Linked DNA regions of Homo sapiens: all the other regions are linked to region 1. The links are contacts of gene promoters, found by promoter capture Hi-C in blood cells and fetal thymus (Javierre and others, 2016). All regions are on one chromosome and are shown on one strand. The core of a region is centred on a gene start or on the middle of the fragment in contact, and the rest is flanking DNA. Distances in the headings are between cores, read along the strand shown. Region 1 holds the start of COLQ (collagen like tail subunit of asymmetric acetylcholinesterase). Region 2 overlaps SH3BP5 (SH3 domain binding protein 5). Region 3 overlaps SH3BP5 (SH3 domain binding protein 5).

Region 1 (3,668 bases), core at 772-3,271:
GAATCTGAGCTAGATAGTAAAAATTCATATTCTGACACCAAGTTACTCAAAAGATACCTTCCTCCCAGGTAGACTGTACCTTCTCCAAGCCACTGGAAGCTGGCTGCTGGGGCTCCAGGAGTTAACAAGAGTGAGCCTGAGAATGTCCTGATTGAGTTTGGCCAGCAATCACAGCTCCTTCTTGTAAAAATTTTGGGAGCAGCTAAATGGGGGTACCCTCTCTTTAATCTGTCCTATAAATTTTGAATGTAGTTCAGGTATATTTTTCATGCTTTCAAAAGCTTTCCTTATCAACTCTGTATCAGTTAGCTATTGCTGATGAGCAAGTCATCCTAAAACTTACTGGTTTGAAACAATAGCCGTTTTATTTGCTCATGACTTCGTAATCTGGGCTGGGCAGTTCTTTCGAGGGTCTCACTTGGGGTCACTCCTGTGGCTGGCATCATCTGAGACCAGGACAGGGCTAGATGTTCCAAAATGGCCTCACTCGCCTGTTGATGCTGCATCTGGGATAGTCAGAACAGCTGGAGGCTGGCTGCTTCCCCCTCCATGTGGCCTCTTCAATAGTCCAGACTTTTTAAAGTGGCAGCTGATTTTCAAGAAAAGGCAAAAGCAGGAGCTGCCAGGCCTTTTAAGGCCTAGGCCAGGAGATGGCACAGTGTCCCTTTAGCCACATTCTATTGGTCAAAGTAAGTCACAGAGCCACCTCAGATTTAAGGGAGGGGAACTAGCCCTGCTTTTTGCTGGGAAGAGTGTCATGCACACACTGGGTTGGGAGGACTTTTGGAGGCCATCTTTGCACCCAGGCTACCATGGCTCCCTTGGGTCTCCTTTGTGCTGTTCCTATGTGCAAGTTCTAATCCGTGTAGGATTCATCCCCATTACCTCACTTAACTTTCCAACAAACCTTTAAAGGGAACATTGTCTCCATTGTATGGATGAGAAAACTGAGGCTTAGAGAGGTGAGCTTGTCCACTGCCACTCAGAGCTGAGAGTCAAGCCCAAGTGTGGTGCTACAGCTGTAAAATATCACTTTATACCACGCCCTGACCCAACTCCACCTTCCCCATAATGAGCACAGGGGCAGGATGCCCACCCCAGCATCCAGTAACTAGCAGACTGTTTCTGAGTTAACTCCTATGAGGCATGTAATATGTAAATTAAAGCAAAATGAACAACTCTGTGAATTATTATTTTGTTTTAGTCATCTAATCATCTCTATAACAGGCTTTTATAAACTCATAAAAGGTATTAAGAATGTGATAATTTTTATTTGAATAATTTTGTCTAGCCAAAGATTAAGTTAGTGATGTTATTTTTCTGAATATAGTTTGATAAAAATCATTCACTTTTCTATACTTTTACTGTTTTCATTTATTTTGCCTTGCATTGAATCAAAAGGTTGCAGCTTTTGGAGAGAGAAACACTTTTTCACAGAGAAAGCTGTTTGGAAATATAAACTACTTCCTTCCTCCTTTTTATTGGATGATTAAAGAAAAAAATTAAAAGTTAACTTTACATTTGTTACACAATGGGTAAAAATGTCACAGGCTGACAGTGGAGGGGTTTTTCTCCATGAAATTCAGTTTGAATCAGGAGAGTTGTTTCTGCCCAGTTCCAAGGAGGTAGATGGTGGCACATAACCAATTAGGAATCTCTCTGCCCTTGAGGACTGCCTCCAGTGAACATCTGAGACTTGGCTGCCTTCTCATCACCTCTTCACTAGCCACTTACCTCAGTCTCCAAAAAAGAAAATTTTGACATCTTAATTTTAATGTGGGCATTTGATATGGAGCTTGAGATAAATATAACTCTCTGTAGCATGGAGACAGTTTAATGGGAAATGGTTGGCATTCTTTCTTGGTAAAGGCATGGGAGACAGGAGAGGTGGGGGAGGGAGAGAGAGGGAGGGGGTGAGGAGGAGGGAGAGGGAAAGAGAAAGAGGGAAAGACACACACACACACAGACACACACACACACGCACACACACACACACAAACACACGCGCACGCAAACAGCAGTGAGGAAGAGAAAAGCAGAGATAAGCAAGGCTCCGCAGCAGCCTCCTTTCTAACTTGACCCTCGCCAGACCCTGGCCAGCATGGTTGTCCTGAATCCAATGACTTTGGGAATTTATCTTCAGCTTTTCTTCCTCTCTATCGTGTCTCAGCCGACTTTCATCAACAGCGTTCTTCCAATCTCAGCAGGTAAATGATGGCCACAACTTTCCTCTCTTCCATCTGTCAGGGGACAGGGGGAGGAAGGAAGATTGTTTTGCAATGTGTCCTGATGTTTTTGCCATTCAACTGTTGGTGGAGGGAGGTTGGAAGGAAGACGGCCACCCCAGCAGCTTCCTGTCACCCGAGCTTGTCTCGGAAGCCCCTTCTGTCCTTGTTCCAACCGGCTCCTACCTGGCTGCTCAAAGCAGAGACACTTTGAAAAATGGTTTCTGCCTCCCCTATTCTCCCCATTTGCTGCATGATTTCATCTTGGTCAGGAATTTGGGAGAGCTTAAAAGAGACAGAGGTGTGCAAGTAATAGAGAAGTGAGTCTCAGATGTTTCTATAAATACATCTCTGACCTCTTCGAAGGGGGCTTGCCTCACAGGGGCTGTTGTGGAGTAAACAAACCTCTTTCCAGACCCAGATAGCATCCATGGCCACAATAGTCCCTCGAAGGGAAAATGCAGGTGGCAGGGGCCGGTGGGGTGGGGGGTGAACAGCGGCGGGGCAGTTGCAGCCTCAGGACTAGGTTTTCCCTTTCTCCAGACCTGTCTTCCTGGGTGCGACTTCCCTTCAGCCTCAGACAAGGCAGCTGGAGGTCCTGAGAGAAGTGAGCTTTCCAGGGAGAAGTGGAGGGGGTTCCACAGTGACAGCCAGGTCTGGAGCTGAGTGTGTCTGCCGGGTATGAGGCTGGGAGATTTGGGGAAGGGGCTGTGTCTGCCAGCCTGCAACCTTTTCTGAGGTCAGCAGCCTGTTGCCCTTGTCTTGTCTGACCCAGAGCAGGGGAAGTATTCGGTTACTAGTATGGCCTATTTAAACCTTTCTGAGGAAACTCAAATGTTTCCGGAGGGCTTGAAGGAGGCAGGCAGACCCTCACAGCCCCCCTCAATTCACCTCAGTGACCCCTGACTCTCCCCAGCAAAGTTTTAGTTATGCCTCCAACATGAGTCTCATAAATACTTCAACTGAGACAGAAATTTCACTATCGCTGCCTTTGCTGGAAACACAGGGAGGGCCAGAAATGCCAGGCTCTCAGAGAGGGCACATCTCTGAATCCAGCTCCCAACTGCTGTCCATTGATAAAAACAGCTCATCAGCAAGTTGTGTAGCCAACGTTTGTGGGCCATGAGGGAGTGACTCAGAGACTGGTGTGAGGCTAATTATAAAAGTGTGAGAAACAGAAGGAGGTGGGGGCAGATTTGTGGAGAATTCAGGAGGGTGGGCAGGAAAGGTGAGTGGTGGTGTCACCGTGGGTGTGTGCCCACATGCCCCTGCAAATTCAAGTTAAGAGCATCAAGCTTCTTCTAGGAGTGAGTAGTCATTATTCATTCCCCAGTTCAAGGGAGAAGCTTGAGAGTTAATTTGGCCTAATTTGGTGGTTCTTAATCATGTTTGGGTCATGGATTCCTTTGAGAATCTGCTGAAGGTTAGGACTTAAGGAAACTC
Region 2 (3,837 bases), core at 874-3,373, 230 kb after region 1:
TCTACCTGGTTCTGGCTGGTGCCTGGCACATAGGAGGCATTTATGACTATTTGCAAATCTGAAAGACACTCTGGCACATCTGAGGAGAATGGGCTTTTAGGACTAAAGGCAGTTTTTGAGCTCATTGGTGCAGTTATTTCCCTGCACACCCCTGCCTCTTCTTGGCTAGGGTAACTGAGAAGCTCTTGTTCCGAGAAGCTCTTGTTCCAAGAATCTGGAGTCCTTGGGAACTTTCCCCTCATGGTGCCCTGTTCCTGCTAGGACTTCAGTGTGGCTTTGTCATGCCTTCCTTCTTCCCCGTCACTTTATCTCTGCAGAGCCACTTGCCTGCCTGGGGGCAGTTCTTGCCACGGGACTTTGGGTGAGGAGGTCTGGCTCAGTGACGTTCTTCCCTGTGGCCCTGGTCACATTCCCCCTGGGTGGCCACAGGCCAGTTCCTGGGAACTGCGTCATTCCTGCTGCCCAAAGTAAGGGCACGTAGTGGAATGACAGGGCATCTGTCTCAAAGCAGAGTTCCTGGAGATTTATGGCAAGAACTGAGCATGGACTCTTAACTCTCCTTCGCCTGAAAGATCACATCCTGCCTGACAGTCTTGGCTGAAGATTCTGGGAAAGAAGCAGCTGCACTTTGGAAACTTGGAATCTTGAATTAGGATGGGGTCAGGAAGGAGATGTGTTGCAGCTTTTGACCCAGGTCAAAGGCTCCTGACACACACAAGTAGATTTTTGGGCTTCTGCCAGAAGGGTTGCACCTCCTGCTTGGCTGGCTCTGCCTCGGGCGTCTGGGGCTGGAGCAGGGAGAGTGTTGCTGATCTTGAGGTTTTCTTTTCTTTTTTCTTTTTAGATGGAATTTCGCTTTTGTTGCCCAGGCTGGGGTGCAATGGTGTGATCTCGGCTCACCACAACCTCCGCCTCCCGGATTCAAGCAATTCTCCTGCTTCAGCCTCCCGAGTAGCTGCGATTACAGGCATGCGCCACCACGCCCAGCTAATTTTGTATTTTTAGTAGAGATGGGGTTTCTCCATGTTGGTCAGGCTGGTCTCAAACTCTTGACCTCAGGTGATCCACCCACCTTGGCCTCCCAAAGTGCTGGGATTACAGGCATGAGCCACCGCGCCTGGCTTAGGTTTTCTTTTCTGGTGATGCCATGAACCATTTGCATTCAACCCCATTCTGTCTGGCAGGTGGCAGGAAGTCCGCGTGGGGGACTGGTTGCAGGCAGGTCTTAGCCAGGAAGCACTGGGCTGGAGGAGCTGCCCTCCATCACCTTGTTAGTTGGGAGGTTTGTCATGGGCAACTCCCTTTTTCTTATCTCCTTTGCTATTCACAGAGGCATGGCTGAGCCCCCCTTGGTGCTGCTGGGCAGGCAGTGTTCTCTGTGAAGCTAACAGGTGTGGTTTGTCACCACAGCATAGTGGTTAGAGGGGAAACAGGGTGTGGAGTTTGGTTCCCTGAAACCATGATGCTCTTCAGATGTTTCCTTCCTTCTTCTCAACTGTACTCTGCTTTCAGTAAAGTGATTGCATGGACATGGATAGCCCCTTCCCCTCTGTAAACCACAGGCATTCCCTGGCAAGAGTGGCAGAGTGATTAATTTTTCAGTGAAAGGAAATCAGAGCATAGGTTGTGTTTCTGCTACGAGTTTTGTCGACACAGGCTGGCCTTTTTATGTTGCCTGGTGACGAGGTTTGGGCCCCGGCTGTGCACTCTTGGTGCACCTTCTGTTCCTTTCCTGACTCAGAGGATGCCCCTGCTTTCCTTCCTTTCTTTTCTACTTCTTCCCCAGCCCTTCCAGTTGTGACTTCTATGAAAATCTACCCTGAAGAATCTGATGAAATTATTCATGCTGAGAAGTAAATGACTGATAAGACTTAGAGATTTATGGTCTCTGGGGCTTCAAGTGGTTCTGACTTACAAACATTCCCATAGCTTGGAATACCCTGCTTCCAACCTGGTGGGACTGCATATTCCCAACTCAGGGTTCATCATGCTGTGGGAACCTCTGCACATGTGAGAGACAGAACTACACCCTTTACACTAAGTGGGAAATGCTTAGAAGTGCAGGCTGTAGGTAGACTTTTCATTTCTACCCAGTGGGATGTCCTTGTGGAGTTTAAGCCAGAAGTAAGATTGGCGGATAGAACATGGGAATACAGAACACCCAGTTAAATTTCAGATTTTTTTTTTTAGGTATAAATTTGTTCTATGCCATATTTGGTACATAAGCTAAAAAAATTGTTTACCTGAAATTCAGATTTAACTGGAAGGCCTATATTTTTATTTGCTAAATCTGGCAGCCCTACCAAAAGGGAATTTGTAGTGTTGATCAGCCAGAGAGAGAAAGTAGTTTTGGGGTCAGCTGCCCTGTCTTGGGGTTCCTGAATCCACAGCATGTGGAGCTGTGGAGGAACCCTGGCTCCCACTTTGTCATTCCTTAGCCTGTAGCCTTGAGTGGGCACAAGTGAACACAGACAGGAGAGTTGAGTGATACTAAAAAGCATGCGAATGCTCATGCTGCTGTTCTAGCTACTCCCAAGCCTGGTGTTTCTGGGACGAAATTGAGTTTCTAAGATAAGGAGCTGGGTCTAGTATTTTTTTCTGTCCACCCCAACCCTCACTAGCTTGGTTTTGCTGAGAGCTGGTCAGCTCCCGGTAGAATTCCGAAGGGCTTCATGGGAGGCCACATCAACTGGGTCTCTTCTGAAGAATCTTCTGGAATGTGGGTTCCTCAGCTGTGTCTTCCCCTGTCTTCTCCAGCCACTTCCTGTTTCTGCCTCCCACCAGTTCTTTCCCCTTCTCCATTCTCGATGGCCTTTATTAGTTTGATATTTATTAGTTTCTTCCATTTAAAACTTTCATGGGCATGGGGGGAGTTTACCTTCTCATGGAGGATGGAGCACCTGTTTGCTTCAGTTAAGGCAATGATGGGCTCTGGTTAGGAAGCCTCACTTTGTAGGTTTCATTTTGGGTAAGTGGTTTATTTTTATTTTTGAGACGGAGTCTTGCTCTGTCACCCAGGCTGGAGCGCAGTGGCACGATCTCAGTTCACTGCAAGCTCCACCTCCTAGGTTCAAGTGATTCTCCTGCCTCAGCCTCCCAAGTAGCTGGGATTATGAGTGTGTGCCACCATACCCGGCTAATTTTTTTTTTTTTTTTTTTTTTTTGGGACAGAGTCTCACTCTGTTGCCCAGGCTGTAGTGCAGTGGCGCAATCTCGGCTCACTGCAACCTCCATCTCCCAGGTTTAAGCAATTCTCCTGCCTCAGCCTCCCAAGTAGCTGGGATTACAGACGTGAGCCACCATGCCCAGCTAATTTTTTGTATTTTTAGTAGAGATGGGATTTCACTGTTAGCCAGGGTGGTCTCCATCTCCTGACCTCGTGATCTGCCCGCCTTGGCCTCTCAAAGTGCTGGGATTACAGACGTGAGCCACCGCGCCCAGCCTAATTTTTGTATTTTTAGAAGAGACGGGGTTTTGTCATGTTGGCCAGGCTGGTCTCAAACTCCTGACCTCAACTGCCTTGACCTCCCAAAGTGCTGGGATTACAGGTGTGAGCCACCGTGCCCGGCCTGAGGAAGTGGTTTAAATGGAAGTAAAAAAAGATGCCCTGTGCTCATCAATTCACTGTCAGCCCCAAGTGTATGCCCCAGCCCTTTGTCAAAGCACCACACCCCAGAGAAAGTGCTTGGTGTTATTTCTAAAAGCAGTGGCATATCAAAATCTTCTGAGGTTTTTGCATTCTTTAAGTCTCTTGATCTCAGGGTAAGGCCAGCTTAGTGAAGGTTCTCCTTATGTAGAGAAGGGGGGGTGTCTGTTTTCACACTGACCTGGGCACTC
Region 3 (3,595 bases), core at 1,096-3,595, 250 kb after region 1:
TATGATGGTGAGAACCAGATAGCCAGCTCTCTCCGGGATTGTGAAATTGATTGGTTTCTGACTTTGGAAGTCCTGTGTTTTGTGATGACACTGAGAAGCAATGTCGCAGTTAAACTTTCCTCAGTTAGATAAGTGTGTAAACTCTTTGGTGCTTCCTGTCTTGGCCTGGCCTGCTGCCTGATACACTCCTGCTTTGCAGAATCTTCCCTAGGAGACCTTTTGACAGCATGGTGCTTCCTCAGTGCACCAGAGGGAGAGATCTCCCTCTCTTCCCCTTCTTACAAGGGCACTGATCTCCTCATGAGGGTCCCACCCTCAGGACCTCATCTAACCCTAATTACTTCCTGATAAGGTTTGGGTCTGTGCTCCCTCCCAAATCTCCTGTCGAATTGTAATCAGCGATGTTGGAGGTGGGGCTTGGCGGGAGATGATTTAATCATGGAGGCTGTTGCTCATGAATGGTATAGCACCACCTCCCAAGCACTGTTGTTTGGACAATGAGTTCTCATGAGATCTGGTTTAAAAGTGTGTAGCGACTGGGTGTGGCGGCTCACACCTGCAACCCTGTAATCCCAGCACTTTGGGAGGCCGAGGCAGGTAGATCATCTGAGGTCAGGAGTTTGAGACCGGCTTGGCCAACATGGCGAAACCCTGTCTCTACTAAAAATACAAAAATTATTATTGGTGTCTTAGCAGCTACTCTTGCCATGTATTGCTGGCAGGGAGACTGTCCAGTGGTGGTGGCATGGACCTGTAGTCCCAGCTACTCAGGAGGCTGAGGCAGGAGAATTACTTGAACCCGGGAGGCAGAGGTTGCATTGAGCCAAGATCGCACCACTATACTCCAGCCTGGGCGATAGAGTGAGATTCAGTCTCAGACAACCAACCAACCAACAAAAAAAAAGTGTGTAGCACTTTCCCCGCACCCAGGATCCAAGTCCAGGCACTTTGTGAGATGCCCTGTTCCCCCTTTGCCTTCTGCCATGATTGTAAGTATCCTGAGGCCTCCCCAGAAGCTGAGCAGATACCAGAATCAGGCTTCTTGTACAGCCTGCTGAACTGTGAGCCGATTAAGCCTCTTTTCTTTATAAATTACGCAGTCTCAGGTATTTCTTTCTTTCTTTCTTTCTTTTTTTTTTGTTGAGCTAGAGTCTTGCTCTGTCACCCAGGCTAGAGTGCAATGGTGTGATCTTAGCTCACTGCAACCTCCGCCTCCTGGGTTCAGGTGATTCTCCTGCCTCAGCCTCCCGAGTAGCTGGGACTATAGACTTCTGCCACCACACCCAGCTAATTTTTTTGTATTTTTAGTAGAGACGGTGTTTCACCATGTTGGGCAGGCTAGTCTTGAATTCCTGGCCTCAAGTGATCCACCTGCCTTGGCCTCCCCAAAGTGCTGGGATTCCAGGCGTGAGCCACCATGCCCGGCCCATAGGTATTTCTTTATAGCAGTACAAGAATGGACTAATATGGCTCCCAAAGGCCCCACTTCCTAATATAATCACATTAGGGATTAGGGCTTCAATATGTAAATTTGGGTGGGCACAAACATTCAGTCCATAACAGGAGCCTTCCTGGAAATCTCACTCAGTGTTCATTTACCTCTCATTAGCTGTCACTTACCAGAGGGACCAGTTGTAGTGAGGGCTGGGAAGTGAGGGTCTTTAGCTGAGATATTGCCTCCCTTTGAGACCACAACGAATAGAGAGAATAGACAGTGGGGCATGACAGGTGCCCAGTGCTTACTTGAGTGAATGAACCGGTAAGTGCATGAATTATGGAGAGATGGCATCTGGTTTCTGTGGGTTAAATGTGGAATGAGGCCTCACATTAGTTGTACCTGTGATATGGCAAGGCAAACATGTATCCTATGTCACTGTACAGGAGAAGGAATCTCGCAGAAACTTCAGACGCTTGTCCGGAATTTGACAGCACATGTTCTTCTCAAAGGCAGCTTCACATGGGCTTCCTCTTTTCCTTTGTAGAGATCTGGTTCTCTTATTTGGAACTCATCAGATACATGGCAGAGGGTGTGAAGAGGTGCTGGGCCCGTGGTACAGCAGCCACCTTTCAGAAGGCCGTCAAAAGAGCATCTTTTCTTGCTTGAAGAAATAAGGGATTCATAACTGAAGCAGAGAGAACTGGGAGAAGAGAGTTTACCCTTAAATGTTGCTGAATTGAAATACTAAAAAATTCCTAAAAAGGCAAATACAAATCCCATTTTAGGATCCTGTGGGATTCATCCTGTCTCCTGGAGTTGGTGTGAAGCATATAGGTAGGAGAGGCCACCTATGGGTAGGGGGTGGAGTGGCTTTTAAGGTGACAGGTTCCCTCTGCTTCCTCTCGTTCCCAGCAGCTTGGCCTGCGGAGGCCCTGCAGGGCTGTCCTCACATGAAAGAACTAAGAACCACTAATGGGCCTGGAGGCACGAGGTGGGGCAGGGGTTGGGGGGGTGAGTTGGTCAGCTCTAGGGAGGGTGGGCATCCTTGTTCTCCTTGTGTAGCTGAGGCACACCTGAGTGGAAGTGGGCGACTGGTCCCAGGGCCACATGGTGAGTCCACAGCAGGGGCAGGTCCCTGGGCCACTTTGGTTGAAGGTTTAGCCTGGCATTCATTCAAGGTCTTCACTGGAGTCCTTTTTAAAAATTTGATCTGAGGTATCATCGAATCTCCTACAGGCACTCTGTTTTGTAATGTCTTTATCCTACAGGCACTCTGTTTTGTAATGTCTTTATCCTACAGGCACTCTGTTTTGTAATATGTCTTTATCCTACGGGCACTCTGTTTTGTAATGTCTTTATCCTACAGGCACTCTGTTTTGTAATGTCTTTATCCTACAGGCACTCTGTTTTGTAATGTCTTTAGAGTCTCAAATCCTTCCTTCTGTCCCCCACCTCATCAGCCCATGTTTTCAAATCATTTGTGTCCTTAGTCCTGAGTTCGGGATCCTCCTCCTTTAAGAGGCCTTCCTTGGTTCTTTGTACTGGAAATAATTTCTCCTTCACATTCCCTGCCATTCCTCCCTTCCTGCTGTGGCACTGTCACATACAGCGTTGTATTACAGACTTCTGAGTGTCCACTCCATGCTTGGTTCGGGTCTCCATCTGATTGTCATCGTCGCCTGGAGGGCTGGGTCTGGGTCTGGTATGCAGTACACAATCACAGAGTGCTCGGGAAAAGCTGTTCTTTGCCTTGGGGGCTGGCGTGCTCTGAGTCTCTGATTTTTTTGTTCCCCCTTCTTTAACCTTCTTCACAAAGCGTCCTCAGCCTGTGGTTTCTGAAGACTTCCTCGAAGTCATGCAAGAATTGCTTGGGGAAGGGTGGGGTCCCTGTAGTTCCCCTCTTCCCGAGTCCCAGGGGCTGCCTTAGGGACGTCCCACCAGGGCTTATGTAACTGACTTGGGGATGTGGTTAACCGAGGGAGGGTGGTGGGACGAGGGAGGGTGGTGGGACGCTGCAGAGGCGGGTTTGTGGCTTCTACCCTGCTGGGGAATTCAAGGTGAGCCTGTAGAGTGGTGACTGTGATGTTTCAGTGCTGATTTCTCATGCAGTCACACAGCTGCCATCACATGGCCCATCTTGGGGTAAAGGTATCTACT

What was found. Contacts are between HindIII fragments. The CHiCAGO score rates a contact against its expected background, and 5 or more counts as called.
Region 2: a contact is called between a fragment that was not itself captured here and the fragment with the promoter of COLQ in region 1, in 1 of 17 cell types (M1 macrophages). The highest score is 5.7, in M1 macrophages.
Region 3: a fragment that was not itself captured here is called in contact with the fragment with the promoter of COLQ in region 1 in 3 of 17 cell types (M1 macrophages, M2 macrophages and monocytes); the score reaches 7.8 in M1 macrophages.

The regions. Positions count from the first base shown.
Region 1 is chr3:15,520,059-15,523,726 of GRCh38, reverse strand. COLQ (collagen like tail subunit of asymmetric acetylcholinesterase) reads left to right here and starts at 2,021. Exons shown (of 17, transcript NM_005677.4): 1 at 2,021-2,207. The coding sequence starts at 2,102. The HindIII fragment of the contact is 3,239 bases long and covers 284-3,522 here.
Region 2 is chr3:15,289,853-15,293,689 of GRCh38, reverse strand. The region is part of intron 3 of SH3BP5 (SH3 domain binding protein 5); the gene reads left to right. Among named protein-coding and RNA genes, the nearest start is that of SH3BP5-AS1, 38 kb to the right of the region's middle. The HindIII fragment of the contact is 7,378 bases long and covers 1-3,837 here.
Region 3 is chr3:15,271,793-15,275,387 of GRCh38, reverse strand. The region is part of intron 3 of SH3BP5 (SH3 domain binding protein 5); the gene reads left to right. Among named protein-coding and RNA genes, the nearest start is that of SH3BP5-AS1, 19 kb to the right of the region's middle. The HindIII fragment of the contact is 9,619 bases long and covers 1-3,595 here.